7 separate regions of the Homo sapiens genome follow, and regions 1, 3, 4, 5, 6 and 7 are each linked to region 2. Evidence: promoter capture Hi-C in 16 types of primary human blood cells and fetal thymus (Javierre and others, 2016). All regions are on one chromosome and are shown on one strand. Each heading gives the region's core, a stretch centred on a gene start or on the middle of the fragment in contact. The rest is flanking DNA. Distances are from core to core; before and after follow the strand shown.

Region 1 (3,342 bases), core at 837-3,336, 230 kb before region 2:
TAAAAATATAAAGCACGCAGCCATCAAAGCAGAGTAAGTACAGCAGGACCTGTAACTCTTACTCAAAATATATGAATCATATAACTTGGGCCCACTTCAAAGCCCATGTTATTAGAGGGGCTTTAATCGAACTCAGTCACCTGCTTGCAAAAGCTGATCAAACATGTCCACAGAGGCTTTGACTTTTCTGAGCTCAATTCGTTCCTTCAGGGCGGCTTCACTTATGTCTTTGATCTGAGGTTCAAAGTACTCAGGCATTAAACACTAGGAAAACAAGATGACTAAAGTTACTACAAACAGGTAAAGGTGAGGGAAGGATAACTGAGTAGGACAAAACTTTTATCACCAACATACCAAAGTAAAACTTCACTGCTCCAATTCATGTTTCCTGCACCAGATACTACTGATCATTTTAACATCACTGTCTTCACAGGGAATTGAACTAAACCTTTCATCTCTAATGCTGTGTATCATCTAAACATTTAATACTACCCAAGGTATGCTGATTTTACCTCATTCACTAACTTATTCAAATACTTTCTGAATGCCTACTATTTTACCCCAGACATTAAGCTTGGCACTGGGGATACAGAGACGAAAGGCATTCTCTACCTTCAGGGTGCTCACAATCTAATGGAGAAAGACACTGTCTTAGTTTAGGATTTTAATATTTTGACTTACACAATCACACTGGCTTCCTCATCTATGTGCAAGTTCTACTATGAAAACAAGAAGTGTGTGTTTCCCTGTGAGCTTTGGGAAGCAGAGAGATGTAGGGATATGGGAGCAGTTTAGATATGATGAGTCTGAGATTAGTACTTCCACCAACAAACTCAGGAGGGCAGAGGCGCATCTGTTTTGCTCACCACTGTATGGACAAGCACTAAGCACAATACCCACCACACTGCATAAATCCTCACTCCAAAACTACAGAACAAAGAGGGAGCTGGAAATACAATGTGGAGTTCAAAGTAAAGGGATCTAGGCTAGATATACAAAAGAGTACCAAATGGATTATAAGCGTCACTGAAACAGAAGAGTATACACAATAAAAAGAGAAAATGAGCATAAAAATCTAAGAAAGATACCCATGCTTAAGAAGTGGATCAAGGCCGGACACGGTGGCTCACACCTGTAATCCCAGGACTTTGGGAGGCCAAGTCGGGTGGATCACGAGGTCAGGAGTTCAAGACCAGCCTGGCCAAGATGGTAAAACCCCGTCTCTACTAAAACTATAAAAATTAGCCAGGTGCGGTGGCAGGCACCTGTAATCCCAGCTGCTCAGGAGGCTGAGGCAGGAGAATTGCTTGAACCCGGGCGGCAGAGGCTGCAGTGAGCCAAGATCGTGCCACTGCACTCCAGCCTGGGCAACAGAGTGAGACTCCATCTCAAACAAAAACAAACAAAAAAAGAAGCGGATCAAGAGCAAGCAGCAGTGGCTTACACCTGCAATCCCAGAGATTGCAGAGGCTGAGAAGGGTGTTTGCTTGAGCCCAGAAATTTGAGACCAGCCTGGGCAGTGCAGTGAGACAAGACCCTGTTCTCTACAAAAACTAAAAATTAAAAAAAATCAGCCAGGCATGGTGGCACACCCCTGTAGTCCAAGCTACTTGTGAGGCTGAGGCAAGAGGATCACTTGAGCCCAGGGGTTCCAGGCTGCAATGAGCTATGATTGTACCATTGCACTCCAGCCTGGGTGACAGCATGATGCCGTTTCAAAAAAAAAAAAAAGGAAGAGAAAGATGTGTATAGAGAGGTAGTGAAGGAAACTTCAGTCATAGAATTAAAGACCTAAGAGCATGGTGTCACAAAAATCAAATGGGGAAAATATTAAGATGAAGAGCAAATAAATACAGAAAGAATTTTAAAGTTAGTCTTGTGATCAAAGCTAACTCCACACTTTAAAAGGCTTATCATCCAAATATTGAGGGTATTCAAATAGCTACTGAAATATTAGCCATGAAAGCCTGGTTTAATTTACATTTAAAATAGTATTATGTAAATAATGTAACTACCTCTCCTTACCGGTATATGAGGTTCAGCTATGTCCTTCTGAAAATATTTGGGGTATGAATTAATAATAAACTTGGCCACATTCTCCCCGGATTTCTTTGCCAGTAAAAATGAACGCTATATAAAGAAAAAGATTTAAATACATGTAATTTAAACTCAAGCAAGATTATAGTTACACTCTCAGCAAGAATTTCTCCCCCCTCACAAAAAAAAACAAATGCAACAACACGCAGAATCCCAATTAGAAATTATAGACTATCCCACCTTTTCTACTGTGATATAATTTCAGTTAGCATCTTATACACAGCTTGAAATATATAAAAAGCAAGCCATTTAAACTGAGTGGGTCACTCCAGTGTGAAAAAGCCCTAAGTATTAGAAACCAAAACCAAAAATCCTTTCCCCATTGACGATATGTACATCTTTTTGAAGAAAGTAGTAAAGGATTCACATAGTCTATCAATTTCTCAGCATTTGTAAACCTTTCCCAGGTTATTACAACTAAATTATTTATGTACTGTTGTACGCAAACCAGAGAGATAAAACACTAGAAAATTATATGAAAATACTCACAGATTCCAAAGATGATGCTGGCATAAGGTAAGGATCATCTTGAAACACATAAGGCACAGCTGTGGTATCCTGTGGAAAAGACATAATACAATTTCTATATTTATTTTGAAGACAGCTCACTGTAACTTTTAGCTCCTGGACTCAAGGGATTCTCCTGCCTCAGCCTCCCAAGTAGCCTAGGCTACAGGTGTGTGCCACCACAGCTGGCCATTTCACAAAATTTTTTGCAGAGAGGGTGTCTTGCTGTGTCACCCAAGCTGGTCTCAAACTCCTGGCCTCAAGCAGTTCTCTCACTTCTGCCTTACAAAGGGCTAGGATTATAGACGTGAGCCACTGTATCCAGCCCACAAGTCTTTCTAGCTAAATTTTTAAGAGGACCTTGTGAGTTTTGATAAACAAAAATTCCGTAAGTTGTAATTATGTATGTAACCTAAATGCGCAAACGTGTGTGGGCATATATACATGTATATATAGAGAAAAAAGACAAAAGACAAACACCTGCACTGTACTCTCAGCTCTACAAGACTTGCCTTTAATTATGCAAGGCAAGCAATGGCTTAAGCCTCCCTCCCCATGGCTGATTTTAATATTTAAGTTTGCTACCACTGGGGACTGTTTTAAACTCTAGGTAAGAATCATCTGAATTAACTAGTCCTAACAGCAGAATCCCAGAATAGGATTTCCTCCAAAGCAAGGTCACTATCCACCCACGCTCAACTTCACCAAGAGTCCCTCCTCCAAATGGAAGATATCACC
Region 2 (3,385 bases), core at 691-3,190:
TGCTGCCCAAGTGGGTCAACCTAATGTGAGTGGAGTGAATGAGGTAGTAAGGGCTTAACAGATGTCTTGTGATTCTGGGACAGGAGGCAGCTTCAAGTTCCTTTTCTTCCTCACCCCCACCTTACACCCATCCTTGGAAGCTGGGATACTGCTGACTCTCATGGCAGCCATAACGCTATCAGCGCCTGGCTTTGCCGACAAGGGGAATCTGGAAGAGAAGGGGAAGGACAGGGGAGACAAAGAGAGGTAAAGAGTGTTGCATCAAGCACATGTGTCAGAAGTGTTCAAACCAGAGCGCCTCCATTTTGAGTGAGGGCTAGAAAAATGAGGCTGGGACTTGCTAGGCTGCATTTCCTGAAAGCTAGGCATTCCTAGCCTCTAGGTGTTTATGGTTAAGAGAACAAATTAATAATGCTTACTAAACAGACCCAGACTTGAGAGAGTCCAGATATCCCGATATCTGGAGAACAAAGGCATTCCTAATTTTGCTTTAAAAATAATAATATTGATTATTGCAAAATATAGTAATTAGGGAAAATTAATCCTTTATCACAAACCCTTGTAGCAGAAGACATCTGCCCATATATACAAGCATTACAAGCATTGTACCTTAGTTGGATATGTCCCTCCTCTTATTTTCAGGAATGCCCTGCTGGAGTGCAGTGGCGATCTCGGCTCACTGTAGCCTCTGCCTCCCGGGTTCAAGCGATTCTCCTGCCTCAGCCCCGTGAGTAGCTGAGACAACAGGCTTGCGCCACCACGCCCGGCCAATATTTGTATTTCTAGTAGAGACGGGGTTTTGCCATGTTGGCCAGCTGGTCTTGAACTCCTGACATCAGGTGATCTGTCCGTCTCAGCCTCCCAAAGTGCTGGGATTACGCGTGAGCCACTGTGCCCAGCCACCACTTTACTTTCTTAATAAACTTGCTTTTACTTTGCACTGTGGACTTACTCTGAATTGTTTCTTGCGTGAGATCGAAGAACCCTCTCTTGGGGTCTAGATCGGGACCCCTTTCCTGTAACACATGGGCCTTGGGCTGATCTCCAAGATTAAGAGGGCAAGATACTCAGCTGCAAGGGTCAGCTGTCGCTGACCCCAGCAGCTGCTCTGCCTTGGCCAACTTACCGGATTTAAATCGCCCAGTGACAGCTTTTCCTCCAGTATTTTCAAAATGCTCCCAATATCCTCACGTTAGAACAATCCAGAAATAGTCTTATGGTAAAACTCTTTTGGGAAATGTGAAAGTAGAGTCCTCCCACCTTTTCCTTTGCAACGCTTTTGCCCCAACCTCGATCGCCCAGGCAGCACATTTTTTCCGGCACCCCCACCAAGGGAAGAACAGAGACATCTCCAAACCAGCTGCCCTGCGCCAAGCTGTTACAAAATAGAGCCACAAGTCTCCCGGTTTATGCAAACATATTTGGCTCGGTGTCTAGGATCTTCTTTTTCAAACTCAGAAGGAGATCACAGGCACACGGCCGCGGTGCTGTGTACGCCCCTCTGAAAGGAAGTTCTGCAAGTCGACCGACTTCACTGGCTTCACTGAAGTCCGGTCCGAAACCACCGGAAAGTTGCAGGCGCACAGTATACGTTCAGCTGTGTCCAAGAAATAACCTATCAATCACTGCCTTAAGCTTTGTTTCCTTCCTGAATTTTCTTATTTTCACGAATATTTATGCTTTCACAAACTGTATGTCATTTCCTCTCCAGAACCAAGGGGGGCTCGCCCCAGCCTGGCCCCCGCCCCGGGTGCGTCCCTGCAGGGGGCGCCCTGCTCTGGCAATGCCCACCGCACCGCAGGGCTGACTGGCCGCGCGCCCGGGGGCGGGGGCCGCCGCGGAGGCATCGTGCTCTCCGATTGGCCGTCCGCGTCCTCGTGACGTCAGACCCCGCCCACGCGCCCCTCCTCCGCATCTGAGCGGGGGAGCGGCGGCCCCCAGCTGAATGGGCGCGAGAGCGGCGCTGGGGGCGGGTGGGGGCGCGGGGTACCGGGCTGGCGGCCGGCCGGCGCCCCCTCATTAGTATGCGGACGAAGGCGGCGGGCTGCGCGGAGCGGCGTCCCCTGCAGCCGCGGACCGAGGCAGCGGCGGCACCTGCCGGCCGAGGTACGTGGCGCAGCCCCCTCCTCGGCGTCGCGGGGGCCCGCGGGCTGGGGGCTGCGGCGGCGACTTGTCTCTTCCCGGGCCGGCTGGGCGCGGCGTTTCCGCCTCGAACCCCGCGGGCAGCGCCCAGGGCACGACACCCTCAGGCGAGCCCGGCTGGGGCGCGGGCGGAGGGTCGTGGTCCCGGGCCGTGTGGACCGGGCGGGGGGTCCCACGCAGGTGTGTACGCGGTAGAGGGTGGGGCGGACCGCCGGGTGTCGGGTCCCGCCGCAGTGGCCCTTTCCCCGCCGCTTTCCGCTGCAGCTCGGGATTTAATTCATTGCTGGAAGCTTCGGAGTTAGCAGAGCCGAGTTAACTCGTTTTCCTGGGATGGGCTTAGGGAACCCCCTGCAAGGTTACTAGCAGCTCCTGAAACCTCTCTCTGCATCCATCGGGGAGGCGTGATGTGGGGCCGCTGGTAGAAATTTGCCGGTGACCTTCCCTGCACCCTCTCTGCAGCCAGCCTTGCGGAGAAGACAGGTTTTGGCGACCTTTTGATTTCTTCTGAATTGTAAGCCGTGGCTTGACGCGGGTGTGCATTCATTGTACGCCTTGCGTGTGTAAGTAACGCAGGGTTTTCCGAGAGCATCCCCGAGGAGCCCTGCCCTTGCCTCACACCCGCTTGGTGACCTTGGCAGACACTGATCCCCCTGTGGGGCTCGGGCTCATGGTCTCTCCTGAGAAGCTTACCCTGCCGATGGCCGAGGTCCCTTCCAGGCCCCGGGTTTTTCTAATCATAAAAAAATACGTTTACGAGGGTAGAGGATCCTGCAGAATCTCTAGCTGACTCGGAAGACGAATTTTATATCCTCATGTCTTAAGTCATGCATGCGGCTTTTGCTTAATTAGGCATCGTTCATTTGAAGGGGAAAATGGTTTTATGTGCTGCGCTTCATCTGGCACCAGTGGTTGCCTGCTCCTCGTGGCAGGGCCGTGCTGGGTGTCACAGAGAGGAAGGAGACTCATCTCCTGCCCTCTGGTGTTTAGCTGCCCTCCCCCGGGCTTATGGCTGCTAATCCTTTTCCACGGAAGGATACAGCTGCTGAAACTGTGGAAGAGGAATCCATTTCTGCTGCATGAAGGGGCACAGACTTGAATACAGTCAGGACAGGTTGTGGTTTCACTTGTGTAATCCTGAGAGCTTGACAGCTTCGAGGAGTGTCTAACATTGCTAGTAACAGAGCCTAGAAGCACCTGAATTCCAGCTGTCACTTGGAGAAGGAGAGATTCATACGAACTGCGA
Region 3 (3,074 bases), core at 26-2,525, 170 kb before region 2:
GTAACAAAAGGAAATAGGCCACTCATGTAAAAGGTTTTATTCTCAGAAGAGTCCAGACCAGAGACAGAGAAATGGCTAAGCCAGCAATAGTCTGACTTTCTTTCCCCTTTGTTTGGGGTTCCTGAGTCTGGGTGGCTTCAAGGGAGTGTCTAGCAAGAGTAGACTGCATAGTAGCCTGGTGCAGTGGCTCACACCTGTAATCCCAACACTTTAGGAGACTGAGGCGGGCAGATCACCTGAGGTCTGGAGTTTGAGACCAGCCTGGCTAACATGGTGAAACCCTATCTCTACTAAAAGTACAAAATTAGCTGGGCGTGGGATTAGTGCCTGTAATCTCAGCTACCGGGAGGCTGAGGCAAGAGAATCGCCTCAGCCTGAGGCAAGAGAATCGCTTGAACCCAGGAGGTGGAGGTTGTAGTGAGTCAGGATCAGCCACTGCACTCCTGCCTGGGCAACAGAGTGAGACTCCGTCTCCACAAAAAAAAAAAAAGTAGACTGCATAGTTTCTGTCCTTTGCTTCTAACTTAAATTTGGTGTCCTCATAATACAAATATGGTGGTAATAGGCAGTGGTGCTGGTGGAGTAATAGTAATATTTGTTGGGAAGTTCCATATGTTTGCTGAGTGCTTTAGACACATTATCTGATTTAATACTCACGACTAATCTGCAATGCAGACACCATTATTATCTCCATTTAGGAGATGATAAATTACATGCCCAAGACTACAGGAGACAGATCAAACCCAGGACTTTTCAACCCCAGAAGCATCATACCATACTTCCTCTCAAAGTAACCAAATTACATGATATGTGGCGACCAAATAATGAAAAACAGTAAAATATGTTCTTCTGCTGTTGCCTGAGTATCCAAGTTCAGCCTTAAGGATCAACTTCTAATTGGCTATGTGATCTTAGCCCTGTGTGTCTCAGTTCCTCATCATTTCCTGGGACAGTAGAAATTAACTTGCTAAGCTAAGTTCTGATTCTAAACATGGTTTTTCTCTTTGAAACCAGACTAACCCACAAACAAATTCTTGCATAGTGTAGTCACTCTTGCCCTTTTCACCTGTTGGCAAAAAAAAAGCCCGTACCAACCTTTAGAGACACACTAAAAAATCTCACCCGTGACAGAAGCAAAACCTGGACCTATTTCCTAATTTTATTTGGTACAGAGGATTTTAAAAGGATTCAAGATGTGGCCTCTGGGCATAATGGAATTTGGAAATCAGCAACCAAGATATTTGGAAAAGCCCTCAATATTTGTACTTCTAAATAACGTACTTCTTAAATAGCTCATGGGTCAAAAGAATCTAAAGGGAAATTAGAAAGCATTCTGAAGTAGATGAAATGAAAACACAACAAAATTTGTGGGATGCCACTGAAGCAGAACTTAAGGGGGAAATTTATACATAAAATGCCTAGGTTGAAAAGAAGAAAAAGGGTCCCAAATCAATGACTTCAGCTTCAAGTTCATGATCTCTAAGGTCTCTTCCTGCTCTCCAGTTCTTAGTCTGTGGACCTGGAACTTGATTTTCCTTTTTAAGCCAACCTTGCATTCCTGGATAAACCTTCCTTGGTCGTGAGGTATTATCCTTTTTATATATTATTGAATTCAATTTGCTAATATTTTGTCTAGAATTTTTTTACTTCTGTGTTTGTGATAGATATTGGTCTGTAGTTTTATTTTCTTATAATATGTTTGTTTGGTTTTGGTATCAGGGTAATCCTGGCCTCACAGAATGAGGTGTTAGGAGGTATTTCCTCTGGTTTTCTGTAAGAGTTTGTGTAGTACAGTATTCATATTATTTATTCCTTAAATGTGTTGTAGAATTCACCAGTGAAGGCATCTGGGCCTAGAGTTTCTTTGTGGCAAGGTTTTCTTTCTTTTTTTTTTTTTTTTTTTTTTTTTTTGAGATGGAGTTTTGCTCTTGCTGCCCAGGCTGGAATGCAATGGTGTGATCCTGGCTCACCGCAACCTCCACCTCCCAGATTCAAGCAATTCTCCTGCCTCAGCCTCCCAAGTAGCTGGGATTACAAGCATGCGCCACCATGCCCGGCTAATTTTGTATTTTTAGTAGAGATGGGGTTTCTCCATGTTGGTCAGGCTGGGCTCGAACTCCCAACCTCAGGTGATCCACCAACCTTGGCCTCCCAAAGTGCTGGGACTACAGGCCTGAGCCACCGCGCCCAACCTGTGGGAAGATTTTCAATTAAAATTTCTATTTCTTTAGTAGACATAGAGCTATTTTTGGTTATCTACTTCTTGAATGAGCTTTAATTGTTTGTGTTTTTCAGGGAATTTGTCCATTTCATCTAAGTTACTGAATTTATAGGCACAAAGTTGTTCATAATGCTCCTTTGTTGACCTTTTCTATCTGTATTGCCTGTAGTGGTGTCACTTCTCTCATTCCTGACATTGATAATTTGTGTCTTCTCTTTTTTCCTGATCAGTTTGCCTAGAGGTTTATCAGTTTTATTCTCAAAAAAAAGTCTTTGGTTTTATTGACTTTATTTTTCTGTTTTCTGTTTCGTTGATTTGAACTTTATCACTCCCTTTCTTCTGTTTACTTTGGTTTAATTTGCTCTTTTTTTTTTCCTAGTTCTTTAAGTTCTTTAAGTCAATTTGAGACCCCTTTTCTTCTTTCAATGTAGGCATTTTATGTATAAATTTCCCCCTTAAGTTCTGCTTAAGTAGCATCCCACAAATTAATATGTTGTGTTTTCATTTCATCTACTTCAGAATACTTTCTAATTTCCCTTTTGATTTTTTTTTTCAATCCATGAGTTATTTAGAAGTATGTTGTTCAGTTATTTAGAAGTACAAATATTGAGGGCTTTTCCAAATATCTCGATTGTTGATTTCCGGTTTAATTTCATTGTGCCTAGAGACTGCACCTTGGATCCTTTTCAAATCCTTTGTACCAAATAAAATTGGGAAATAGGCCCAGGTTTTGCTTCTGTCATGGGTGAAGTTTTTCATTGTATCTCTAAAGGTTGGTACAGGCTTTTTTATTTTGCAAATAGGTGAAAAGGGCAAGAGTGACTACACTACACAAGAATTTGTTCATGGTTCA
Region 4 (3,086 bases), core at 413-2,912, 210 kb before region 2:
TCAGATTGGGATGGTTTCTTTGTCTTTATTTTCTAAATCAGAAAGGAGAAAATTGTAAAAGCAAAGTTAGCCTACTAAACATAGTTGTGTCCTATGGGAGCACCTTTCAAACCAAACATAAAATGTGATGAAACCTTTTTTAAGGTTTGACTAAATGTGTTTAATGTTGTCAAATTTACTATTTCTGCATACAGGGATTGTTGCATCACATTCCCTTCATTGAACTGGGTGGGCTTTGGAGTTAAGTCTATTCCATATCCTGCCTCCCCCACATTCTGTTTGTATTTGTGTCACCTGGATTCAATCACCTAACTTCCCTGAGCCTTGGTTTCGTCCTCTGAAAAGTACATGTAGTGATGAGTATTTCAGAGGATTAAGATCAGGACTAAATAATGCGGCCAGGCATGGTGGCTTACTCCTGTAATCCCAGCACTTTGGGAGGCTGAGGCAGGCGGATCTCTAGAGCTCAGGAGTTCAAGACCAGCCTGGGTAACATGGCTAAATCCTGTCTCTACAAAAAAATATTAATCGAAAAATTGTTTGGGCATATTGACACACATCTGTGGTCCCAGCTACTCGGGAGGCTGAGGTGGGAGGATCACTGGAGCCCAGGAGTTTGAGGCTGCAGTGAGTCGAGGTTGCACCACTACACTCTAGCCTGGGCAACAGGAGTGAGACCTTGTTAAAAAAAAAAAAAAAAAGACAGAATAATGCTGCCTGTGAAGCAGTCAGTGTATAGTAGATGCTTAACTCCTTTTTATGAACAGTTTACCAGTGTACTTAGTGCAAGTTTTGTTCTAAATCTGTTTTTAAGAAGTTACCACTCATTCATTTAGCACATATGTATTTTATGACTTATTCATTTAGCACATATGTATTTATTAACTATTGGGTACCAACTCTGCACTTAGTGTTGGGGTACACTAGTGAGAAAGACAGATTGTGCCCTCCAGAGCTATCAAGCAGGCATTAAATAATCACTTAACTATAGGTTTGTGCTGGAAAGGAAACATCAGAGAGGTTGGTAACTTTAGCTTTCCTCTTGGTCTTTTTTATCCCCTTAGGAAATTAAGTGTTAAATCCATTACGAACCCTCGATACCTGGACAGCCTGGGGAACCCATCGGCAAACGGCCTGTACGATTTAGCTTTGGGCCCTGCAGATTCCAAAGAGGTGTGCTCCACCTGCGTGCAGGACTTCAGCAACTGTTCTGGGCACCTGGGCCACATTGAGCTCCCACTCACAGTGTATAACCCTCTCCTCTTCGATGTAAGTGCTGCCTTAGTTGTGTGGGTCTCCGGGCTGCTGGTGGGATTTGTGAGTGCTGCCTCTCTCCCACAAGAGTGGTCTAAGGAGGTTAAGCCCCAGGCACTCCAATGAAAGCATTCTGTAGAATGAGATTTTGAAGTTTTGAGCCAAATACAATAACTTCAACTTACCCTGTGGCCCTAAATAAATGAATATCAGTTTGATTCCAGTTGAATAGAGCCACAGCCTGATTCCGTTTGCGTGGAGGGTCGGGGAGAGTTCAGATTCATTCCCTACACCTTTTGTTGCAGGGGCTTTGTGCTCTTCAGAAATCTCAGTGGCACCTGCCTGGTAATAGAGAGAACTTCAGTGTTCTCAGGGTCTCCCTGAGCCCTTCAGGTGTCTCTATAGGCACTTGTGTGGTGGCAGGAGAAGCAAAGCCCCAGAAAGCCCAACAGTGAGGTCAGAATGAAGCTCCTGTTTAGAGTCATGCTGGTACATTTTCAGCTTTTTATTTCAGCTAACCTCACCTCCAGGATTTTTTTTTTTAAGCTACACATATGTTGGTATACATGGACATGATTTTTGTCTGTTAATCGTGTTAAAGAGAAGTGTCTTTTTTTTTTTTTTTTAAGACAGTGTCTCATTCCGTCTCCCAGGCTGGAGTGCAGTGGCACGATCTTGGCTCACTGTAACCTCTGCCTCCTGGATTCAAGTGATTCTTGTGCCTCAGCCTCCCTAGTAGCTGGGATTACAGGCACGCACCACCATGCCCAGCTAATTTTTGTATTTTTACAAAAATTACGGGAGACAGGTTCATCATGTTGGCCAGGCTGGTCTCAAACTCCTGGCCTCAAGTAACTGGCCTCAAGTGATCTGCCCACCTTGGCCTCCCAAAATGCTGGGATTACGGGCATGAGCCACCGCACCTGGCTGAGAAGTCTCTTAATTAAATCTTGGAATAAAATAAAGATATTTTTCTACCTCAGGTTGTACGCCCAAAGTAAATTTCAAATCTAAATGGATTAAAATAAAACCTTAAAAGAAAATAGAGGGTAATATTTATCTGGTTCTTAAGATAACAAAGGCCTTTCTAAGCATGTAGGCTGAAGTAGAGTTTTTAAAGGAATAGACTGACTACATAAAGAAACTTGTGAGTATACCGAAAATCACCATGGCTACTGTGTCTCTTTCTAATATCCTGTTTGTTTTTATTCCCTCTCTTCAGAAGCTGTACCTGCTGCTTCGGGGCTCTTGTTTAAACTGCCACATGCTGACTTGTCCCCGGGCCGTGATTCACCTCTTACTCTGCCAGCTGAGGGTTCTGGAAGTCGGGGCCCTACAAGCAGTCTACGAGCTTGAGAGAATTCTGAACAGGGTAGGTGGGTAGTGGTGGTCACAGAAATCAGAAAAGGCAAAGTGGTGTGGGGAACAAGAGATGCTTGTATGTTGTCCTAGTTACCATGCCGATAGTCATCAGAACGTTTGATCTTTATATCTTATAACTGGATACCAATAGCTGAGTGTGAAAACAGGAAGCTATAAGAATAATAAAAGAAATGTTCATAGAAACAATAGTGAAATACCATTTAATCCATTTATGAGCTTTTGCTGATTTTCTGGACCAAGGATTCAATCAAGGTTTATTCAATCAAAAGACATTGCTTTTGATTGTTACATCTCTTTGATCTGTCTTAAAGTAGAACATTGTAATGTAGAAAATTCTTTTTCATGATACCAACTTTTTTGGAGACTCAAAGCCAGTTGTCTTATAGGATTTCTTACATTTTAGATTGTCCGATTATTTCTTGTAATTAGATTCACATTTTGGCAAGAAT
Region 5 (3,404 bases), core at 853-3,352, 250 kb before region 2:
TAGACACTTTTGCACTGTCCATAAGCTCATTCAGCAACTCACTTCTGTAAAAGAAAGGCAAAGTGTGAACTTTCTCCAGCCCCTTCAGTAAAACATTTATAGGCAAGATCCAGTGTAAGTTCAGTAACAGAATTCCCAACAGTATTTCTGGAGACAAAGATGAAGTCTAACATTTATTTTTACTTGTTTCCAGTGAGGTTAGAAAGTCTAAAGGGCCAAATGGATTATCAACATTCATTCAGTATGACTTCATGATGATCTATTCAATGTAGCCCCAATGTATGATGATCCGTCAACACAGATAAAAAACTGCTTGCCTCAGGATGCCCTGGATAGTAGGGAGTTGACGGTATGCTTGCCTAACAGAAGAGTGCCCAAATGTGGTGGCTAAGGCTGGTGAAGAAATTCCAAATGTGGCTACTTCCAGGCTGTACCCAAAGAGAGCTGGCTGATTTCAACTTACCTAGGAATCTTATTATGCTTCCTGAAAAGCCCCAACATTTTCCTGCTCAAGAAAGGAAAAAGATTATGAATACTATTAGAAAAACAAGGCAATCAGACACTATAGCTGTCTTCTCTCTGAAATCAGAGACTAAATGCCCTTTTCTTAACTATACTGTAAGCTCCCAAAGACACACATCTGTGGGCTCTACTAGCTCCCAGCCCTGTGTGTACATGAGAATCACCGCAGGTGCTTAAACTCCCCAAACGAATCTACACTGCAGTTTTCACAGGTAAATCTGATATGCTGCCAATGTCAAGATTTGCTGGTACAGGTTGAATATTCCTAATCCAAAAATGCTCCAAAATCTAAAACCCCATACACTTCTGGTCTTAAGCATTTTGGAAAAGGGATACTCCAACTGTATTTGTCCTCTTGTAGAGGATCACCACTGTCCTTCTAAGGAGGGAATCCATCCTGTGCACAGCTGGAAAAGAGGCATAGAACAGAACCTGCTGTTTCCCTCTCTTAAAGTACAGCAGGGGTTCAGTCTGTCTTAGAATTCTGTTATGAAGTGCAGGCTCAGATTGAGGCAACAGTCTCATGTAAGTGCTCCCCATCAGCCTGCCACATGCAGGACAAAGGAGAAACACATACATTCAGCTCCCATGACTCAGCTGAGGTCCGTACCCCTGCGCCAATCATCACAGCCTGGTTGTATCAAGTGTGTGCCAAACTGCCTGCGCTAACAACCAAATGCAAATGTCATACGTCTCTGTCACTAGCAGCATAGTTGCTAGAGAGACACGTGTGAGCCACACCTCAAAGACAAGCCTTCATCATCTTTTCCTGGAGATAGCTGACTAGCAATCAGATGTTCAAATAAAGCTACTTTCTTGTACAAGGAGCCATGCACAAGCACCCCCCACTAATGACTTTTAGAACACACATTTATATACAAAACAAAATACAGGAAAACCACCTGTCACTACCCCTACAAAAGATCCTTTTGCTCATTTTTGGAAACATGAATATGCATAAGGTTCCCATTCACAAACACTAAAAATTAGTATGTGAATGAAGTGCTGATAAAAACATAACCAGAACACAGTGGCACCAATCAAGGACGGGTTGTGGTCAAGGCCAAGTTTAGTTAATGTGCGTAAATGCCAGCTTCCAGAAGTCTAAGTACACAGCCCACATTTTAAGCTGGAGAGTGGGATGGGAGAAGCATCCAAAAATACTTCAATAACCCAAATGACCAAACCATTTTCAAAACTACGTTTCTTTGATCATATATTTCTTTGATCTTTAGTTCATTTAAGTGGAATAATGAGGTTAAGTGACTTACTTGTCCATAGACACAGAAAGTAGAAAGATAATTCTCAGCGTATGGTTTGAGAGAACTATGCCTTATCTCAACTACATCATGCATACTGTCTTCTTCCAAAAGTTTGCTTTTTAGTTGGTATTTGCAAGTTCCCGAATCAAATACGTGTTATGTGGCCAAATGAAAGAACCTCTACCAGCGTGGGCCAATGTTTTAGATTCAAATACAAAAGCTTCTAAAGTGTATACTTGTGGTACTGTACTCACCAGGCTTCCTGAGTTCTCCCAGCCCTTAAAAAGAGGATAGCTATACAGTTGAGAGAGGTGGCTGGCCAATCCTGAGCAGTCTGTCTGATGGGTTGGCTTTCATACGCAGATTTGATATCAGCAGCACAGTCAGCAAATGCCACCTGAAGCTGAGAAGCTTAGGAGTCAGCAGAACTGCCTAACTGATTTTATGAGAATTTCAGTTCAGGAGACTAACACAGGATCCTTAAAATCTGAGCAATGCATTTTACCATTTGAATATATTATGTGTATAGCACACAAGTAATTTAATAAAAAAAGGACCCTGTCCTAAGTATTTTGATTAGCCACAACTTTCAAATTCAGCTATGCATTTCCTTTGTAGATGGAGATTTTTAAAAAAGCAAGCTGAAGACAGAAGCTAATTTCATGTTGCTTGCTTTGGACTACAGGAAAGAGGGTAACTTTAAGAACAGATTTCTGCTAAGGGCAAGATATGTTTAGATGTATCATCACTCAAATATGGGTTTGGGTAGCAGAACTCTCCAAAATGGCAGATAAAACCAGGGAAGCTAGCCTTAAGAAGACCTCAGTATGGGAGGATATACTGGCTGGTGAGTTTCAGGCCTACCTCTGGTGGGTGCTTGTCCCTTGCCATGAGCATCAGGATCTCTTCTCTCAGGTCACTGCGGAAAGTATGACCATATTCTTTACTATCTTGAAACAAGAAAGGAACAAGGAGTGATCATTGTTATGTAAAACCAACACACTTTTGTTCACTGTCAACCTATTTTTTGGTAGGTAAAAATAAGTTGCTGTTATTTATTCTAGGCTTATCCCAGGATTCCAGAAACCCACCAGGATTCACAGTGGAACAAATGTAAAAGCCAATGCCTGGGCCTTGCTCCAGTGACGTGTTCATCACGGCATGTGCACTACATGGGAGCAGCCACCAGCTCCACGTGGTTAAGACGTTGTTTTATAGCACTTGGGAATTTGATATACTTTTATCACTCATTAGAGCAGTCGTGTGAAGCAGGAGGGCGGGACTAGAGCCTACTGACTTTATGATACAGTAGTCACCTAGTGAAAGATACAGAATATCTATTTCATTTTGCAGCCAAGTTATACACATAAGACACACACACCCGTGATGCGTGATGCTCATGGCTATTACTTGGAAACAGAATCATCACTGACTGTGGTTAGTGAAGTGAGGCAACACTGGCACAGAGGAATTACACAGGCTTCCGGGTCAAAGACCTTTATTCAGATTTAGGGTCTGCCACGCCATTAGCATTTATTTTCTTTGGGTCATATCCCGCAACAGGTGCACAAAACTCAGCTCATTCCTATGTCACGAAGGGACTGACTTAAGTCATTTTCA
Region 6 (3,387 bases), core at 391-2,890, 150 kb before region 2:
GTCAGACACAAACTCATGATTTTCATTGTATACCTTAATGCCCTTGTAGTGACCATCACTGTTGACTGGGCAGTCACCCCATTTGCAGATAGGGAAACTGAAACCGATGTGACCTGTCTAAGGTCATCAAGCTGATGGTAGAATTGAGGGTTGTGCTCTGGTGCTGAGTCCTTTCCATCCTGGTTCCTATCCCTGAGCTTGGCCATCACTCTTCCCCTCTTCCTTTCTTCCCAGAAACTCCCTTGTGCTCCTGGAGGGGCTCTGAGTGTGCTGCTTTCTTTCCTGTGTCTCCCTCTGCTCCCAAGACCATTGGTTCCCAAATCTGGTTTGCACAAAGTGAGGGCCCTGATTAACAATGGATGCTCAGCCTCTCTGAGAGTGGTGCTCGGCCCCATCATGAGGGCTCCACACCAGCCACCTGGGTCCCCTGAATTTGTGCTCCATGGCCCTCTTGTCACGCCCTCATCTCTTTGATCTCATGTGTGTGATTTGTTTGTTTGTTTTTTTGTTTGTTTGTTTAGGTGATAATGAAATCACAGCATCTCCATGAAGTTTTATCCAGAGCAGATCCCAAAAAAGCTCTCCACCACTTCAGAGCTATCAAAAAATGGCAAAGCAAGCACCCCAACACCCTGCTGAGAAGAGGCGCCTTCTTGAGTTATTCCCAGAAAATTCAGGAAGCTGTGAAAGCCCTGAAACTTGAGAGTGAAAACCGCAATGGCCGCAGCCCTGGGACTCAGGAGGTGATGCAGGGAGGTGGTGTCCTTAATGTCCAGCACGTCCAGGCTTAGTCAGTGGGTGAGGGATGAGGGGCTGTTTTCCTAAGAGAAGGTAGAATCATGAACTCCAGCTTTGTTCACCGTCAGTCAGAACAGAATGGCTCTCAAATGGGAATGTAAGGTGGGGACTCTTAACAAGGGTGTAGGCAGGGTTTGGGGGGACTAACTGGGGCCTGTGACTTCGGGGTTCCCCGCGATCCCAGGTGTGAAGGAATGGGGAGCAGTCATGAGAAACGGAGAGGACGACTATGTGCTAGGGCCACTGGACAGAGCCCTGGGTAGAGACCCACTAGAGGGGGGTTGAGGATAAATACCAGGATCCCCTTCCTCCTGCCTTTCCCTCTGCTGCTGGTGCCTCCCATCAGCCAAGCACACCTGGGAGCTGGAAGCAGGGGATCTCTTTGAAGCAGTCACTTTGGGACAGCCTTGAGGGCACAGAGCGTGTGAAAGAGCCTGGATCCAGAAATAACCATGGATCCAGCACAGTGACTGCATCCTAGCTGGCCTGAGACAGTCGTGGCTTTGCCTCTTGTCCTAGCCTAATCATAACAGTCTCCTGTTTCACTCTAAAAGAAGCCCAGTTTGCTCAGTAAATTACATGCTTGCCCTCCCTGGGCTTGAATGGGCCAGGATGAAGAGCTGCTAGGCTTATAGTCAAGCAGGGTGCCCTAGGACAGGTTGAAGTCTCTCCCCATTTTAAATGGGGAGATGGTTTCTCATTGCAATCAGGTTTCTTTCTGTCTCCCTTTATTCTCATTGGAAGCCAATGCTTTTGATCCCTCTTATGCTACTGGGTATCCCTCCCACATAGCTGAGACCCATCCTTCTGTTCAGATGCTGAGGATGTGGTATGAGTTGGATGAGGAAAGCCGAAGGAAATACCAGAAGAAGGCGGCCGCTTGTCCTGACCCCAGTCTGTCTGTCTGGCGTCCTGACATCTACTTTGCATCAGTGTCAGAAACATTTGAAACAAAGGTTGATGACTACAGTCAAGAGTGGGCAGCTCAAACAGAGAAGAGTTATGAGAAATCAGAGCTTTCTCTCGACAGGTATTGACAGTGATTTGTTGCACAACATGTGCAGGAGAATCTGCCTCCTAGCCCCTGCCTCCTAGCCCCTGCCCTACTCACTCCGGAAGAGGGCTGCCTCCTGGGTTTGAGACTTCAGCTAGAGGGAGGGCAGTAAGACAGCCAGGGGCAACGCACAAGCCCCAAGGGCCCAGGAGTGAACAAGTGCAAGGGAGGCAGGAGTGGACACCCCCATCTGGGCCAAGATAGGGATAGTGGTCTGCTGGGAGGCTTGCAGGAAAGTCTGCTCTCTTGGGTTTGGTGTGGTGGGTGGGGCTGACTGAGAGTCAGGGAATCTGGTCACTGTTCACCTGCTGCCAACCGTGTGACCCAGGGCAGGTCATTCATGCCCAGGGACACCAGGTCTTAACTTCTCATGAGGCCTTGGATCCGATTACTCCAGTAATCCTTTGAGCTTTGGGTTCCCATTTGAAGGCCTCAGCTTGGACTAGGACAGACACACACACACACACACACACAGACACTGTAGCTCAGCGCGCGCGCGCACACACACACACACCTTTGAGCTTTGGGTTCCCATTTGAAGGCCTCAGCTTGGACTAGGACAGACACACACACACACACACAGACACTGTAGATCAGCACACACACACACACACACACAGACACTGTAGCTCAGCACACACACACACACACACAGACACTGTAGCTCAGCGCGCACACACACACACACACACACACACACACACACACACACACAGTGTAGCTCAGCGCTCCTAGTGGCTGTTCTTAACAGGGTCAGGCTTCATAGGAAAAATGGTTAGTAAATTACAGAATCGTGCGGCATGAATACTTCTGATGTGGTCTGCAGCCATTTGCACTAACTAAAAATATAAACACTCTCATCACCCCCATCCCCATAATGGCCTAGTGAACCTCTTTCTAATTTTTATAGCAGGAGGTTTAAACTGTCTCCAAATTGTCATAATTGAGAAGAAAGAATGGATAAAGGAAAAAGTGAATAATGAACCCAGAAATTCTCCTGCTTAGGGGGCTTGTGGTAACAGTCCCAGAGTGGATATGTGACATTCTGGGGGCAAACATGAGGAGTCCAAGCATGAATGTCTAGAGCTTCAGCCACCCAGCTGGGATCTGTGCTGTGTAATTTGAGGACATCTCAGGGTCACTGGTGGGAATTTGAAGATTAGAGGGATCTTTTGCCTAGGAAAAACGAGTCCAGAAAGAGGTAGAGGTTTCAGTTTTCTGGTTTCGGGCAGCATTGACAGTCTGTGGTGTCTGCTCCTGACCCCTGCCACAACCCCCACCCTGACCCCCCACCACCGTCTCTAGGTTGAGGACCTTGCTGCAGCTGAAGTGGCAGCGCTCACTGTGTGAGCCGGGCGAGGCTGTGGGCCTGCTGGCTGCCCAGAGCATCGGAGAGCCCTCCACCCAGATGACCCTCAACACCTTCCACTTTGCAGGCAGAGGCGAGATGAACGTCACCCTGGGCATTCCAAGGTGTGGGGCACAAGGGAGCACAGGGTGGGGTCTGTCCTAGCCTCTCCTGGAGAAGGGGCCAT
Region 7 (3,147 bases), core at 323-2,822, 190 kb before region 2:
CCACTGCACTCCAGCCTGGTCGACAGAGCAAGTCTCTGTCTCAGAAAAAAAGAAAATACTGGACATGACTTAAATACCTATTAACAGAGACTACTTAAATTATGGTGCATTTGTTAATTGTTCTCCAAGTTAGGGATTTCTCTAAAAACTTATGATGACATATCCTCTGCAGATTTTAAAGAAACTAGCTGGAGAATTGGAGGTGGAATGAAGCTAGTTTTTAAAAATGGAGGAGGCTGAGGTAGGAGAATCGCATGAACCTGGGAGGCGGAGGTTGCAGTGAGCTGAGATCGTGCCGCTGCACTCCAGCCTGGGTGACGAGCAAGACTCCGTCTTGAAAAAAAAAAAAAAAAAAAGGAAAAGGCAAGAGTGGTGTTTTTAAGTGTAGACTATCTTAGGCTATTTTATATTTGAGCCGTATACTCTTAACTTAGAATTTGCTGTGAGCTAGACACCCTGTCAAGTGTTAGGAACACAGACAAGGCATAGTGCCTGTCCTGATATGTGAATAAAAAAGGAACATTGAGTAATGCTTAGTTTCAGTGGATGTATCCAGAAAAGCTTTTTGGGGTTTTTGTTTTGTTTTGTTTTGTGTTTTTTTTTTTGAGACAGGGTCTCACTTTGTCATCCAGGCTGGAGTGCAGCGATACGATCTCGGCTCCCTACAGCCTCTGCCTCTCAGGTTCAAGCGATTCTCCTGTCTCAGCCTCCCTAGTAGCTGGGATTACAGTCATGTCCAGTATTTTCTTTTTTTCTGAGACGGAGTCTCGCTCTGTTGCCCAGGCTGGAGTGCAGTGGCACAATCTCCGCTCACTGCAAGCTCCGCCTCCTGGGTTCACGCCATTCTCCTGCCTCAGCCTCCCGAGTAGGTGGGACTACAGGCGTCCACCACCATGCCCGGCTAATTTTTGTATTTTTCATAGGGACACGGTTTCCCTGTGTTGGCCAGGCTGGTCTCAAACTCCTCAGGTGATCTGCCTGCCTTGGCCTCCCAAAGTGCCCAGAAAGTTTTGAACCTGAAAGACACACTACTTACTTGTCTTAGGTAATCATCTTAAATGCCTGGTCCCTACCTCCTGAATGGCAGTCCCAAGCCTCGTTTTCTCATGTAACCTGGGTATTGCTGGTAGATGGCATCCCAGAGTGATCTTGCTTAGTGTGAGAAACCAAGCCCAATCTATTCCTCACACACCAGTATGATATTTGTAAAAAGAAGTCAGTATATATTTACCTATAAAAATACTTATTTATCCATAATTCAACTTATATGAACTTTTCTGGTAAAAAACAGGTAGATAAAGATATTTATTATAATGTTACTTATAATAGCAAAATATGGAAATCAATCCAGATGTCCAATTATGAGAATATGGTTAAGTGAATTAGGAATCATCCTTAATGGAATATCACATAGCCATGAAAAATGGTGATCAGGCAAAAGCTACATAGCAACATGCAGACATGCTGATGAGATGATACTAAAAGGGCAAAGTAGTGTGCAAAATAAATCCACACTGAAGATTACAGTTGTGTAAAATACGTGTATAGACAAAAAGGCCTGGAAAACAATATATAAAAGTGATAGGAGTTGTTAATGTGATGGGATTATGGGTAATGTTTTCTTTTACTTTGCTTTTTTTTTTTTTTAGGTTTTATACAATAGCCATATGGTTTTTATTACTATAGAAATGAGATTAAGGGCCAGAGGGAATCCAGGCCTGATAATATGCTACCCTTGAGATTGATTTTTGTGGTCAAGTTGCAGGCTTGGGGATAAAGAATTGATAAATCCCATTGCAGAAAGAGTACCTGTTTCTGATTTATTGCACTTTGATTCTCCTCCTTGGCTCCAGGAATTGAGGAAGCTCAGATAGGAAAACGAGGATACTTAACACCCACCAGTGCCCGCGAACACCTTTCTGCCCTGTGGAAGAATGAAGGTGCTGTATCAGGCTAAAGAAATAGCCTTGATCTTCTCTAGGCTTTTATTTCCTGGACTCATTAACCCTGCCTTATTACTTCTTTTAAGTTGTAGTGATTGTAGCTTCCTCCTGGAACTGATCCAGAGGTTTGGGGCAGTCTTCAGGGCACATTGACATTGAGTCATAGAGCAGGAGAGGTCATACCCAGCACCAAAAACTTGACAATTATCGCAGCTGAGCCTGGTTATGAAATGACAACTGCAGGTGGGCCTCACTTAATACAGGTTGGCATATTTTTAGAAGGTTCAGTGTAACTTATTTTAAATGCCCGTAAGTAAAATGCTTTGTCCTTCTGTGAATCAAAGAATGAACTCTGTCTTATTTAAATTGGGACTTTACTATAAGGGAAATCCTTCTTTCCTTTTGAGTGTATAACAAAACCTACGCAGTATATTCAAGCCCTTGTGAGAGTATGTTGTGGAACGCTGACTATAACCTCTGTGTAATAAGCGCTTACAAATGAACATGTTGTTAAAGAGGTATCAGAAAAAAAAAAAAGCACTGGAGTTAGTATGATTGCTTCTGTGGCAGGCCCTAGTACATTTTAATCTTTTTCTCTAGGCATTTTTTAAAGTAACCAGAAACCTGAAATAAAGCTTTGATCCACAGAAGATCCTTTCTTGGCAGTAACTGTTAGGGGTGGGAGGAGGCTAACTTAAAAAAAAATTTTTTTATTCAACATATTTTTTATGAAGATCAAAGTAATGATGTGTGTGCTGTCTGTGTTTTAATAGTCCAGGAGGGTGATTAAAAACAAGTGAAGTTTCTTCCCCATCCTTGCCCATCTCAGTCCCTGGTTTAAGAGCTATTGTCCCTGTAGTACCCATTTTTATGCTATCATATCCCCTGCATACAAACTGTCATGTACACAGGGGCTATTTTTTGTTTTTATAAAGAAAAATGAGGCCAGGCACGTTGGCTCATGCCTCCAATCACAGCAATATGGGAGGCTGAGGCAGGTGGATCAATTGAGCCCAGGAGTTCGAGACCAGCCTGGGCAACCAAGCAAAACCTCATCTCTTAAAAAAAAAAATACAAAAATTAGCTGGACATGATAGCACGCACCTGTAGTCCCAACTACTTGGAAGGCTGAGGTGGCAGGATTGCCTAAGCCTGGGAGATCAAGGCTGCAGTGAGTCATGATCGCACCACTGCACAGCAGCCT

The links. The method cuts DNA at HindIII sites, captures the fragments that hold promoters and counts their contacts. A CHiCAGO score of 5 or more calls a contact.
Region 1: a fragment that was not itself captured here is called in contact with the fragment with the promoter of ST3GAL5 in region 2 in 2 of 17 cell types (M0 macrophages and total B cells); the score reaches 6.0 in M0 macrophages.
Region 3: a contact is called between a fragment that was not itself captured here and the fragment with the promoter of ST3GAL5 in region 2, in 15 of 17 cell types (M0 macrophages, megakaryocytes, fetal thymus and 12 more). The highest score is 22.3, in M0 macrophages.
Region 4: a fragment that was not itself captured here is called in contact with the fragment with the promoter of ST3GAL5 in region 2 in 2 of 17 cell types (total B cells and monocytes); the score reaches 5.8 in total B cells.
Region 5: a contact is called between a fragment that was not itself captured here and the fragment with the promoter of ST3GAL5 in region 2, in 1 of 17 cell types (M0 macrophages). The highest score is 6.0, in M0 macrophages.
Region 6: a fragment that was not itself captured here is called in contact with the fragment with the promoter of ST3GAL5 in region 2 in 16 of 17 cell types (fetal thymus, naive CD4 T cells, M0 macrophages and 13 more); the score reaches 25.6 in fetal thymus.
Region 7: a contact is called between a fragment that was not itself captured here and the fragment with the promoter of ST3GAL5 in region 2, in 16 of 17 cell types (M0 macrophages, naive CD4 T cells, total B cells and 13 more). The highest score is 16.1, in M0 macrophages.

What each region holds. Positions count from the first base shown.
Region 1 is chr2:86,115,843-86,119,184 of GRCh38, reverse strand. It overlaps PTCD3 (pentatricopeptide repeat domain 3), which reads right to left. Exons shown (of 24, transcript NM_017952.6): 5 at 2,587-2,655; 6 at 2,026-2,130; 7 at 141-264. Among named protein-coding and RNA genes, the nearest start is that of PTCD3, 11 kb to the right of the region's middle. The HindIII fragment of the contact is 3,021 bases long and covers 576-3,342 here.
Region 2 is chr2:85,887,545-85,890,929 of GRCh38, reverse strand. ST3GAL5 (ST3 beta-galactoside alpha-2,3-sialyltransferase 5) reads left to right here and starts at 1,940. Exons shown (of 7, transcript NM_003896.4): 1 at 1,940-2,106. The coding sequence starts at 2,025. ST3GAL5-AS1 (ST3GAL5 antisense RNA 1) reads right to left here and starts at 1,650. Exons shown (of 3, transcript NR_110569.1): 1 at 1,127-1,650. RefSeq lists silencers at 1,539-2,158, 2,199-2,318 and enhancers at 2,489-2,568, 2,260-2,760, 3,099-3,228, 3,239-3,358. The HindIII fragment of the contact is 797 bases long and covers 1,638-2,434 here.
Region 3 is chr2:86,062,173-86,065,246 of GRCh38, reverse strand. All of the region lies in intron 14 of POLR1A (RNA polymerase I subunit A), which reads left to right. Among named protein-coding and RNA genes, the nearest start is that of POLR1A, 42 kb to the left of the region's middle. The HindIII fragment of the contact is 7,905 bases long and covers 1-3,074 here.
Region 4 is chr2:86,098,151-86,101,236 of GRCh38, reverse strand. POLR1A (RNA polymerase I subunit A) reads left to right here. Exons shown (of 34, transcript NM_015425.6): 2 at 1,065-1,269; 3 at 2,477-2,626. It overlaps LOC124907852 (a long non-coding RNA gene), which reads right to left and starts at 1,514. Exons shown (of 2, transcript XR_007087121.1): 1 at 1,440-1,514; 2 at 1-32. The HindIII fragment of the contact is 5,382 bases long and covers 1-3,086 here.
Region 5 is chr2:86,133,622-86,137,025 of GRCh38, reverse strand. It overlaps PTCD3 (pentatricopeptide repeat domain 3), which reads right to left. Exons shown (of 24, transcript NM_017952.6): 20 at 2,649-2,734; 21 at 2,039-2,187; 22 at 464-505; 23 at 1-44. SNORD94 (small nucleolar RNA, C/D box 94) reads right to left here and starts at 1,156; the gene lies at 1,020-1,156. The HindIII fragment of the contact is 191 bases long and covers 2,007-2,197 here.
Region 6 is chr2:86,040,330-86,043,716 of GRCh38, reverse strand. POLR1A (RNA polymerase I subunit A) reads left to right here. Exons shown (of 34, transcript NM_015425.6): 23 at 522-743; 24 at 1,614-1,828; 25 at 3,158-3,325. Among named protein-coding and RNA genes, the nearest start is that of POLR1A, 64 kb to the left of the region's middle. The HindIII fragment of the contact is 5,837 bases long and covers 1-3,387 here.
Region 7 is chr2:86,081,875-86,085,021 of GRCh38, reverse strand. POLR1A (RNA polymerase I subunit A) reads left to right here. Exons shown (of 34, transcript NM_015425.6): 7 at 1,854-1,940. Among named protein-coding and RNA genes, the nearest start is that of POLR1A, 22 kb to the left of the region's middle. The HindIII fragment of the contact is 2,017 bases long and covers 564-2,580 here.